Regions from separate parts of the Homo sapiens genome. Here region 2 is linked to region 1. The links are contacts of gene promoters, found by promoter capture Hi-C in blood cells and fetal thymus (Javierre and others, 2016). All regions are on one chromosome and are shown on one strand. Each heading gives the region's core, a stretch centred on a gene start or on the middle of the fragment in contact. The rest is flanking DNA. Distances are from core to core; before and after follow the strand shown. Region 1 holds the start of SIRPB2 (signal regulatory protein beta 2). Region 2 has its middle 80 kb from the start of SIRPA.

The links. The method cuts DNA at HindIII sites, captures the fragments that hold promoters and counts their contacts. A CHiCAGO score of 5 or more calls a contact.
Region 2: a fragment that was not itself captured here is called in contact with the fragment with the promoter of SIRPB2 in region 1 in 1 of 17 cell types (M1 macrophages); the score reaches 5.1 in M1 macrophages.

The regions. Positions count from the first base shown.
Region 1 is chr20:1,489,033-1,493,941 of GRCh38, forward strand. SIRPB2 (signal regulatory protein beta 2) reads right to left here and starts at 2,388. Exons shown (of 5, transcript NM_001122962.2): 1 at 2,243-2,388. The coding sequence starts at 2,327. The HindIII fragment of the contact is 958 bases long and covers 2,154-3,111 here.
Region 2 is chr20:1,812,432-1,817,392 of GRCh38, forward strand. No RefSeq gene overlaps it. Among named protein-coding and RNA genes, the nearest start is that of SIRPA, 80 kb to the right of the region's middle. RefSeq lists a silencer at 3,892-4,186. The HindIII fragment of the contact is 7,477 bases long and covers 1-4,961 here.

The sequences.
Region 1 (4,909 bases), core at 1,138-3,637:
AACTATTGACATATGCAACAACATGAATGAATCTCAAAATAATTATGCGGAGTAAAAGAAGCCAGCCAAAAAGGAGTATAACTGTGTGATCCTTATTATATACAATTCTAGAAAATGCAAACTATAGTGACAGAATACAGATCCGTGGTTGTTTTGGAGACAAGGAGGAGTGGCAAGGACGAATCACAAGGAAACTTTTGGGCGCTGGATATGTTCATGATGCTGATTTTGGTGATGATTTCACAAGTGTGAAATACACCCAGCACTCACAAAAAAAACTTATCAAATTGTGTACTTTACATATGTACGGTTTAATATATGTCACTTACACTTCAATAGAGCTGTTAAAAATAAATTATTTGTAAAGATGAAGCCTGCGTGTGTGAGGAGAAAGAAGCAATGGAGGAGAGGAAGAAGGAAGCACTCAGAAAGTCTTATCTCAGCTAGGGGTGAGTCTGGGGAAGTGAACACCAGGGAAGAAGCTGGAGCCTGGACTCAGTCCTGGTGCCCACACCCCTTCCCTCCCTCTCCCCTTCTGAGTCCCCTTCTGTGTTGTCACTTGGGCTTTAGGAGGTGTCCTAGGAGGTTTGCCTCTGCCTTGTCAGTGGAGCTGGACCTTCTCATCTATTTTCCATCTGCATCCTCTGCCTTTCATGGTTCCTGTATGGGGCTCCCTTTAAAAGCCTTATAGAAAATGTGTTAGCCCCAGTCTCCTCTACTGCAAAATAGGGGCACTCATATTTTTCTCGGGGCTGCTGTGAGTATTAAATAGAGAAGTGGTGAGGCTCAATCCTGGGCCAGCTACGTAATTTGTGAGGCCAAGTGCAAAACGGGAATGCAGGTCCCTTGTTCAAAAACTATTGAGCAACACAGCAGAACATTAAACCAAGCATGGGGCCCTTCTAAGCAGGAGGCTCTGTGCCACTATATAGAGGGCACACCCAAGAACCAGCCCTGACTCAGCTTGAGATGCAGCTGGACTCAAACATTCCAACTGACTGGTTTAAGCAACTTCTCTTATTTTCCATCTATTCTATTGCAACAATCATTGGGAATATTTTTTATTCTGAGTAGTTTAGATTTCTGATTTCCTAGTCTAGTGCCTAAAACATAGCAGACACTCAAAAGTACCTGTGGAATGAGACCTAGCAATTATGATTCACATCTTAGAATTGAGGAAATCAGCTTAGAGAATTGAAGTGGTGTCTTGAGTCATACGGCCAATGAGTAAGGGAGCACCTAGGTCCGACCCCACACCTGGGTTCTGCCAGGATCTCTCCTGGGGATGGCCACCCCGGAGGACCAAAGATGTCATGGACAGAATCTAGATCTCAGTAGAGCCTGGAGCAGAGGCCCAGATGGGCAGGAGATGGAATGAGCCCACTGAGAGCCAAGTATCCCTGCCTGGTAGATCAGAGAGTTCTGGACTCAGAGGCTGAGCTATATATTCAGGGGTCTCAAGACTCTGGAGCTAACCTGGCCTGCCCCTGAGTTAGAGGAAACATGGGAATGATAATAATAATCGCCAAGAGTTATCAAATCTTTGTTATGCCAGGCACTTATGGGTATTATCTTGTTAAATTCTCCTAAGAAAGTCCCAAGGTGGGTCCTATTTTTAGCTCCATTTTACAGTTGGAAAAACTGAGGCTCAGAAAGAAATTACTTAAACTGGTTAGTGGTGAGGTTTGAGCCTACTGCGTCTTAAGCTGAGCCAGGGCTGGTTCATGGCTGTGCCATCTATGTAGTCGCACAGGGCCCTGTGCTTAGAAGGAGCCCATGCTTGGTTTACTGCTCTGCTGTGTTGCTCAATACTTTTTGAACAAAAGACCGCAGTTTTCATTTTGCAGTGGGTCTCATAAACTATGCAGCCGGCCCAGGGCTGAGCCTCACCACTTTTCTATTTAATACTCACAGTAGCCCTAGAGAAAGGTCCCATGAGCGTCCCTGTTTTGTAGAAGAGGCTCCTGGGGCTAAAAGAGCTGCAGCATCTGACGTGGGCATAGGAGCAATCAAGCTGGAAGCCAGTGGGTGTGAGCGCAGAGCCTGGGAGCTTATCACTTCACTACGCTGCTTCTTGGGACACTGGGGGTGCCCTCTGCCGGAGTCAGGCAAATTTTCAGTGGACCCCTCTTTACTCTATCTTCATGGGGTCAAGCTTCTTCAGGCATGGCAGAGCACTTAGTGCCCCTCTAGGGACTGACCAGCCGGGGGTGGACCCTGTTCTATCCTAGACCCCACTTACCTGAGGGGACAAGGACCAGTGCCAGCAGCAGGAAGCAGGGAGGCAAGTGGGCCAGGCAGGTGGGGGCCGACATCGTGGAGCACATGGCATCTTCTGTGGTCCCCAAGACTTGGGGCTCCTCTGCTCTCTTGTGAGTGTTGGAGTCTGAGGCGGGGCCCGTGGACAAGGCAGTTTCTGCGTCTCTTGGCCACAGCTGCTTGGGGAAGTGTTTTCATTGCAGCAACACAAGGCTGTTGGTGCAATAGGAAGGAGCCCGGTCAAAGGGTTTCCTGCTTTTGTGTCTGGGCTGTGATTCCTGTAGTCACTGTGCTAAAACCTTGCCATAGGCTCCATCCTAGGTGCCCGGGAGGGAGGTGGGCACTGAGGTCATAGGACGCACTCCAGAATCGGGTGGAATTTGGAGCAAACATTGGATCTTCCTCTTCTTGGCTGTGCAAGATTTCAAAGTCACTTCCCATTTCTGAGCCTTTTGTTTCTTCATCTGCAGCGTAGGAACAACGGCAGTTCCCTCCTCAGAACAGTTTTGGTAAGATTATGAGAAATAATGTGAGGGCACAGAACAATGTAAATGCTAAACATATTAACCATTATTATTCATGATGTGCAGAAAGTAGAGGAGGTGACATTGCTTAAGAAGAAGGATTTATTATAAAGCAAGCCCCATGGGGGCCTCCTTTTAGCACTGCAGGGAGGGTACAGGCCTAATTCCTAAAAGTATAATCATGTGTAACTCTCTCAGCCTCTGTTTCCTGGGGTCCAAGTGAAACATACTCAGATTGTGCAAACATTTGCGTTTGTGGCATCTTTGTTTCCTGTAAGTGATCTGAACTTCCTCAGGAGCCTCCTGGTGCTGGCTATCAAGAAGGAAAAGCTTAATCTTGCCAATTCATGCAATCCAGGCAATCTCTTTAGCCACACTGTCTGGGTTCAAATCTTGGCTTTACTCAGTCTGGCTGTGTGACCTTAGGACAATCATTTGACCACTTTATGCCTCGGTTTCCTCATCTGTAAAACAGGAATAAAAATGTGGTAGCATGTGTGGGGTGGAGTAAGCACTCTATAGGCTTTCACCATTGTCTTTTAGGTTAACTCAGTCTTTTAATTAACTCAGGGAAAAGTACAAGAACAACTCAGCCTTTCATTATTTCACTTCCTCCCTCATGCTTCAGAAGGTTCTGGGTGCAGAGGAAGCTGAAGATTCTCCAGCAACAGGGTGGCAGGCCTTGGATCTGAGTATGTCCCCTGGGTCCCAGAGGTCTGGTGTCTACTATGAGGAGGTTAGTCTGGCCTGGTCCCCAAGGACTTTGCACTGGGTCTGTGACTGGTCTTTTCTAGACTTTTGAGGCCTTGCATTGATACCCCTGCTCAATTCCATTACTCCCTCTACTTGTTCTCCTGTCAATGAGATCTATATAGTGAAACTTCTTTGAAAGGGCCACAAGCCTAGATGATTCCACCAGACCCTCAGTACTTTCCATGTCATTCTTACACGGGAATTTCTGAATCACCTGCTCATCTATGCAGATTTCTTTCTCAGCTATTGTTTTTTTCTAAAGTTTTACTTACAAATAATTTTATTTTAATAGGCAAGGCATTGTATTGGTTAGCTATTGCTGCATAACAAAGCACCCCAAAATTTAGAAGCTTAAAAACTAAATGTTCAGTTAATTTACTATTTTGTGGGTTGACAATTCAGTCAGGGCTCCATTTGGTGGTTCGGTCTTCTCATCTCAGCAGATTTTGGCTGGGAATGTTCATGCACTTGAGGTCAGCTGCAGGTTGGCTAGGTGGCTTTGTTACTGCGGTTGACTGATTGTTAACCCAGGTACCTCAGCTGTCCTCTATGTGGTCTCTCATCTTCCAGGACACTAACTTAGTCTTGTTCTCATGAAAGGGGCAGTTTTGAGAGACAGTGCAAGGTACAAGGAAACTTCTGCCATATTCTTTTGGCCACATCAAGTTACAAGACCAGACAAGATTCAAGGAATGGAAAATAGACTTTGCCTCTTGTTAGGGAACTGCAAAGCCTAATTGCAAAAGGTGTGGATACAAAGAGGGGGTATAGAATTGTGGATATTTTTGTGATTTATCTGCCATGGGCATCTACAGGTACAAAATTCAGAGGTCTCAGTGTCTCATTTATAGGGCTCCCAGACATTACTTTCCTTAGGGTTAACCACAGTCACCAGTTTTTGAAGACATTCATTTCCTTTACTGTTTCTGATCTAGTGCTCAGAAGCCAGGTTGAATATGGTTTCTTTGTGATGTCGTGGACTATGAACACCCTGGGAAGACAGGCCATGATCCCTTATGCTGTAGGAATCCCTAAACTCCATTCCCACCCCACCCCAGCATTTGGACCTCAGGACTGTGGGGTTGGCAGGACTCTAGCATCTCAACCCCTGTCTTCTCCCTCTTTTTCTTACTTCCTCACCAAGTCATAAGGGGAGGAGTTCCCCTTCTTTTCCTTCTGGTAGGGACTTTCCTAATCTCAGTCTTCTTCCTAACAGCTGGCCTTCTTTGTTCTAGATGGAATCCCTCCTGCCCCTTCCTCAAGACAGCAAGTCTCACACTCCAGCTTAGAATAGGAAAAAAGCTTCCAGGGAAGGAATTAAACTGCTGGGAGGTGGAGAAATGCAAAAGGAAATAGTTAAAAATGTTATATCT
Region 2 (4,961 bases), core at 2,083-4,582, 320 kb after region 1:
GGTTGGGGAAGTGGAAAACATCTTGGAGCTCCCCACCGTCTCACCCAGTCAGAGACCCAGCAAGGGTGTGAACACCTCCAGCCTCCCATATCCCAGACCTTCTTTCCTTCATTCAGCGTATATTTATAAAGCATTTCCTGGGTGCCAGGTACTGTTTTGGGGCTGGGGATTCAGCTGTGAACAGAACAGATGAACTCTGCCCTCAGTGGAGCTGCCATTGTAGTGGGAAGGACAGACATTAAACACATGAATAGATAAATAATAAGTAAGTGGGCTGGGCGTGGTGGCTCACGCCTGTAATCCTGACACTTCGGGAGGCCGAGGGGTGGGGGGGGGGGTGTTGGATCACCTGAGGTCAGGAGTTCGAGACCAGCCTAACCAACATGGTGAAACCCCATCTCTACTAAAAATACAAGGGCGTGGTGGCACATGCCTGTAATCCCAGCTACTCGGGAGGCTGAGGCATGATAATCACTTGAACCTGGGAGGCGGAGGTTGCAGTGAGCCGAGATCATGCCACTGCACTCCAGCCTGGGCAACAGAGCAAGACTTCGTCTCAAAAATAATAATAATAATATGTAAGTGGTAATAAGTTCTTTGGAGAAGAAAAACAAAGTCCTTAATGAAAAGAGCAGAGCTTTAGAATTAGACAGAGCTGAATTCAAATCTCAGCTTGCTCTTTGCTGGCTGTGTAATGCCTGGGAAAGAGATTTTATCTCCCTAACACTCTTCTGCACATTTTTTAATGAGACCCACTGATGAATCACCCACCCATTGAACAAATATTTATAGAACTCTGGGCCAGGCACGGTGGCTCATGCCTGTAATCCCAGCACTTCAGGAGGCCGATGCAGGCGGGTCACTGAGGTCAGGAGTTGGATACCAGCCCGGCCAATATGATGAAATCACATCTCTACTAAAAATACCCCCCCAAAAAAGAAAAAAAAATAGCTGGACATGGTGGCGTGCACTTGTAATCCCAGCTATTCCAGAGGCTGTGACAGGAGAATCGCTTGAACCCAGGAGACAGAGGTTATAGTGAGCCAAGATCGTGCCACTGCACTTCAGCCTGGGCAAGTGAGCCAGACTCCATCTCAAAAAAGAAAAAAGAACTCTGTCCTGTGTCAAGCATTGTTTTGAGTGCTGGGGAGGCCACAGTGAATGAAACAAAAATCCTTGCCCTTGGGAGCTTAAAATCTAAAAGGGAGAAATAGACAATTAACAAATATACGTATATCAGGTGATGAAAGAAAAAGCAAGGGAAGGAGGTCAAGAATGTGGAGGACATTATTTCAGGGAGTGGTGGTCAGGGAAGGCCTCTCTGGGGAGCTGACATTTAAGTGGAGCTTTGAAAGATGTAGGGGAGTTAGCCATGTGGGTGTCTGAAGGAAGAACCTTCCCAGTCGGAGGAGACATCAAGGGCAAAGGCCCTGAGGTAGGGCCATGCGTGGCTGTTGGGAGGATTAGGGAATTGGAGGCAATGTCTAAGACACACCCAGCACAGCCCCTGGCTCTGAGTGGGGGTTCAATCAATAGCAGTTATTATTTGTACTCATTTTATGAAAAATGCAAGAGAAGTCATTTTCCATTATTATAAAAGTTCTTGAAGGCTTTGTGGATTGATGACTTTATTCCCTTTTCTTCTTTTGTTTTTCTGAATCAGAACCAGCAAGTCCAACCCCCAAGCCCACCTGCCAGCCCGCCTCTGTGCCCCCAGTCCCAATCCGGCAGGAATGTTTGACATGCAGTGGTGCTGGAGGGAGGGAGTGTGTAATTAATGATGGTTATTAAATAATAATGCCAGCATCTTGAAGTTCTTTCCTCTCCACAGCCTCACAAATTAGACGCCTTCGAAATGTTGTGCCCGTCGCCAAGATGCACCTCCATCTGGGGTGGAAGCAACATCTGCTAAACAGCTGCATCTTGTTTAAGAGCTGGTACTTAATTCAATTATTCAGCTCTGATAGGGGCAGGCAGAGCTGAGCGGAAGGGGCAGGCCCAGTCATGGGCATATGCTGCTCCACGTCTTCCCAAGTTGACCCAAACTCCTCTCCCACAGCGTCCCCACTCGCATCTGTTGATTCAACCAACCTAGACATCTGTACATTTCCAGAACCGGCCATGCTCACTCATGCTGCCTCCTTGCTTTTTACTCAAGCTGTGTGCCCCTGCCAGGAACACTCTTCTGCTGCCTGTCCAACTCCCGTGTCCTTCGAAAGGCCCAACTCAAACATCAGTATCTCCTCCAGGACAGAGCATAGGGAATTACCTCCCATGAGCTCTCTCGGTGCTTCATGCATTCCTTAACTGGAGCATTCATAACATTACATTGCAATTTTGTGTACCCTGCTGTTTTGTAAGCCCCTTAGGCTGGGAACCATGTGTATTTCATTCTTGTTATCTCAGCATTGTACCTGACTCCCCATAGACACACCCAGCACAGCCCCTGGCTCTGAGTGTTTAGTTAATGGATGGATGGATGGGTGGGTGGGTGGATGGATGGATGGATGGATGGGTGGGTGGGTGGATGGGAGGGTGGATGGATGGATGGATGGATGGATGGATGGATGGATGGATGCATGCATGGATGGATGGGTGGGTGGATGAATGGGTGGATGGGTTGGTGGGTGGATGGATGGGTGGGTGGATGGATGGGTGGGTGGATGGATGGGTGGATGGATGAATGGATGGATGAAGAGATAGAAGAATGGAAGAAAGGAGGGAAGAACAAAGCGGTAGACAAACAGATGGACCCACTGCCACCATCTAAATCCAAACAACCATCATTTCTCACTGAAACACTGGGGTCTCTCACTGGTCTTTCAGTTTCTACTCTTGCCCCCAGTAGTCTCTTCTACTCAAAGCACTTAGTAATCTTTTGAATATGGATTTATATCATGTCACTCCCCTGTTAAAAACCTTCCAGTGGCTTCCATATTCCTAACCCTGACCTCCAAACCCCTATAGGAAACAGCCCCTGCTTATCCCTCTGATATCATCTCCTCTCTGTCCTATGCTCTGAATACTTGGGGAACCTGCCAAGCTCTCTCTCACCTCAGGACCTTTGAATCTGCTCTTCCCCTTTGCCTGGGACTCACTTCCCTGGATTTCTGTCAAGCTAGTATCTTCTTAAGTCTTCCAGTCTAGCTCTAATGCCACATCCTCAAAGAGACACTTCTTTACTTTGCCAGTTAAAATAGCCACCATTGTGGTCCTTAAAGGCCAAGGGGCCTGATCCAAATACCAATGCTTTGGCTGCTGAAACCCAACAGGCTTCCCAGAGCATCATCCTCAGCTGGGGTCGTGACGCAGACCTCCCCCAAGTGCCTGCCCTACAAGCCATCCCTTCCCTGGGTGCTCACTCCTCCTCTCCATCAACTAAAGATCCTTCATGAATGGGCTTGTCTGGAACTGCCGCAATTAAACTATCAGAGCAACATTGGACCATTTGTTTACTATGGCACTTAGAGCTGGAATGGCTTGTTGTTTTGACTGTTTCTATTTTCAGCTCCATTTCCTAGGGGTAGTGGGGAGAGGGTAGGCAATGAATCCTGGTCTGTTCAAGCAAAAAGATGCATCAGTGAAGCCTAGAATTTCAGAGTCACAGAATTCTAGCATCATTGTCATGGAATATGAGAGCAGTGAAAATCTATAATTTTGGTTATAGGTTCCTAGATTCACGAGATTCTAGAATCTTACTCAATGAAATTAGAATCTTAAAGTCAGACAAATTTAGACTCAAAGTCCTAGAGTGATGGGCTCTGAGGAGACTGTCACTTTGTCTACTCCATATCTCTTTCCCAGAAGATCTTCTCTGGGTACCTTATCCACAACGTTCCCCCCTACCGACCCACAGCCTGTCACTCTCTATTGTTTTAATTTTTCTTTATGGCTCTGATCACCACCTGACATTTGATCTGTTTCTCTGTTCATTTGCTTATTGCCTGTCTCCCTCACATGTGAGATTGAGGTCAGGAACTTTGTTTTGTTCAACGTTTAGAACAATGCCTGGCATGTTCTAAACAGTACTCAGAACAATGCCTGGCATGAAGTAAGGGCTAAAAAAAGCAGTGCCCATTCATCCAAAAAATATTTATTGCATCCCCACTTCATATTGGTGCCTCAGAGATGATCTTCTCTCAGGACAGGAAGCAGGTCTCACTTTGCATGCCAAATGCAATTGGCAGTAGATACCCAGAGCACGGTGTTGAAAAGACTTCTTGGGGCTTATCCAAGCTCCGTGGGGAAGGGCAATTGATGAGCAATGTCTGGCATAGACTCAGCCATGGGAAAAAGTGGCCATCTCTGCTCTGGCCTCCAACCCTGCACTGAAAAAAACTGAGGTCCAGAAGAAGATGCACTGGGCATGCATGGGGTGCATAGCCAGAGTTAGAACCCCATCTTCAGTCTCCCCTCAGTGTTGGTTCCTGAGCCCAAGCCTCTCACAAGCACCTGTGTGTGCCCTCCCCTCCCCATCAGCCCTTAGGCTCTCCCTCCCCCGAGGCCTTCCTGGGATGAAGGGGCTGCTGGAGTCCCTGGCCCTGAACCACAGCCTGGGAACCCAATTCTGGAACACCGCCTGAATGCGCAAGCCAGTTATTTTTAAAAATCCAAAAAGAAAAGGAAGAAAGAGAAAGCTCACTGCTTCGGTCTCCGCACTAGCCCTGGCTCAGAGAATAGAGACTTGAAAGGAACAAAGGGTTTCCTCAAACACAGCAGATCAAGGCCTTGGCTTATGTGGTAACCGGTAACCGACCACCGCGCTTTGTGACAAATCCTTCAGAAGGCAACGGCCTCTGTTCCCTCTGCAGCCTTGGCAGAAGGAGGTGGGGGAGCAGGGGACACCCTTCCCCATCGCCCCCCAGCCCCAGTCGGGCTGCTTACAATCATGGACTTCGAGAACCCCTGACTGTTAGGACCTCAAAGGCCTTCACAGAGCATGGAATCCAACCCGCTCTGGG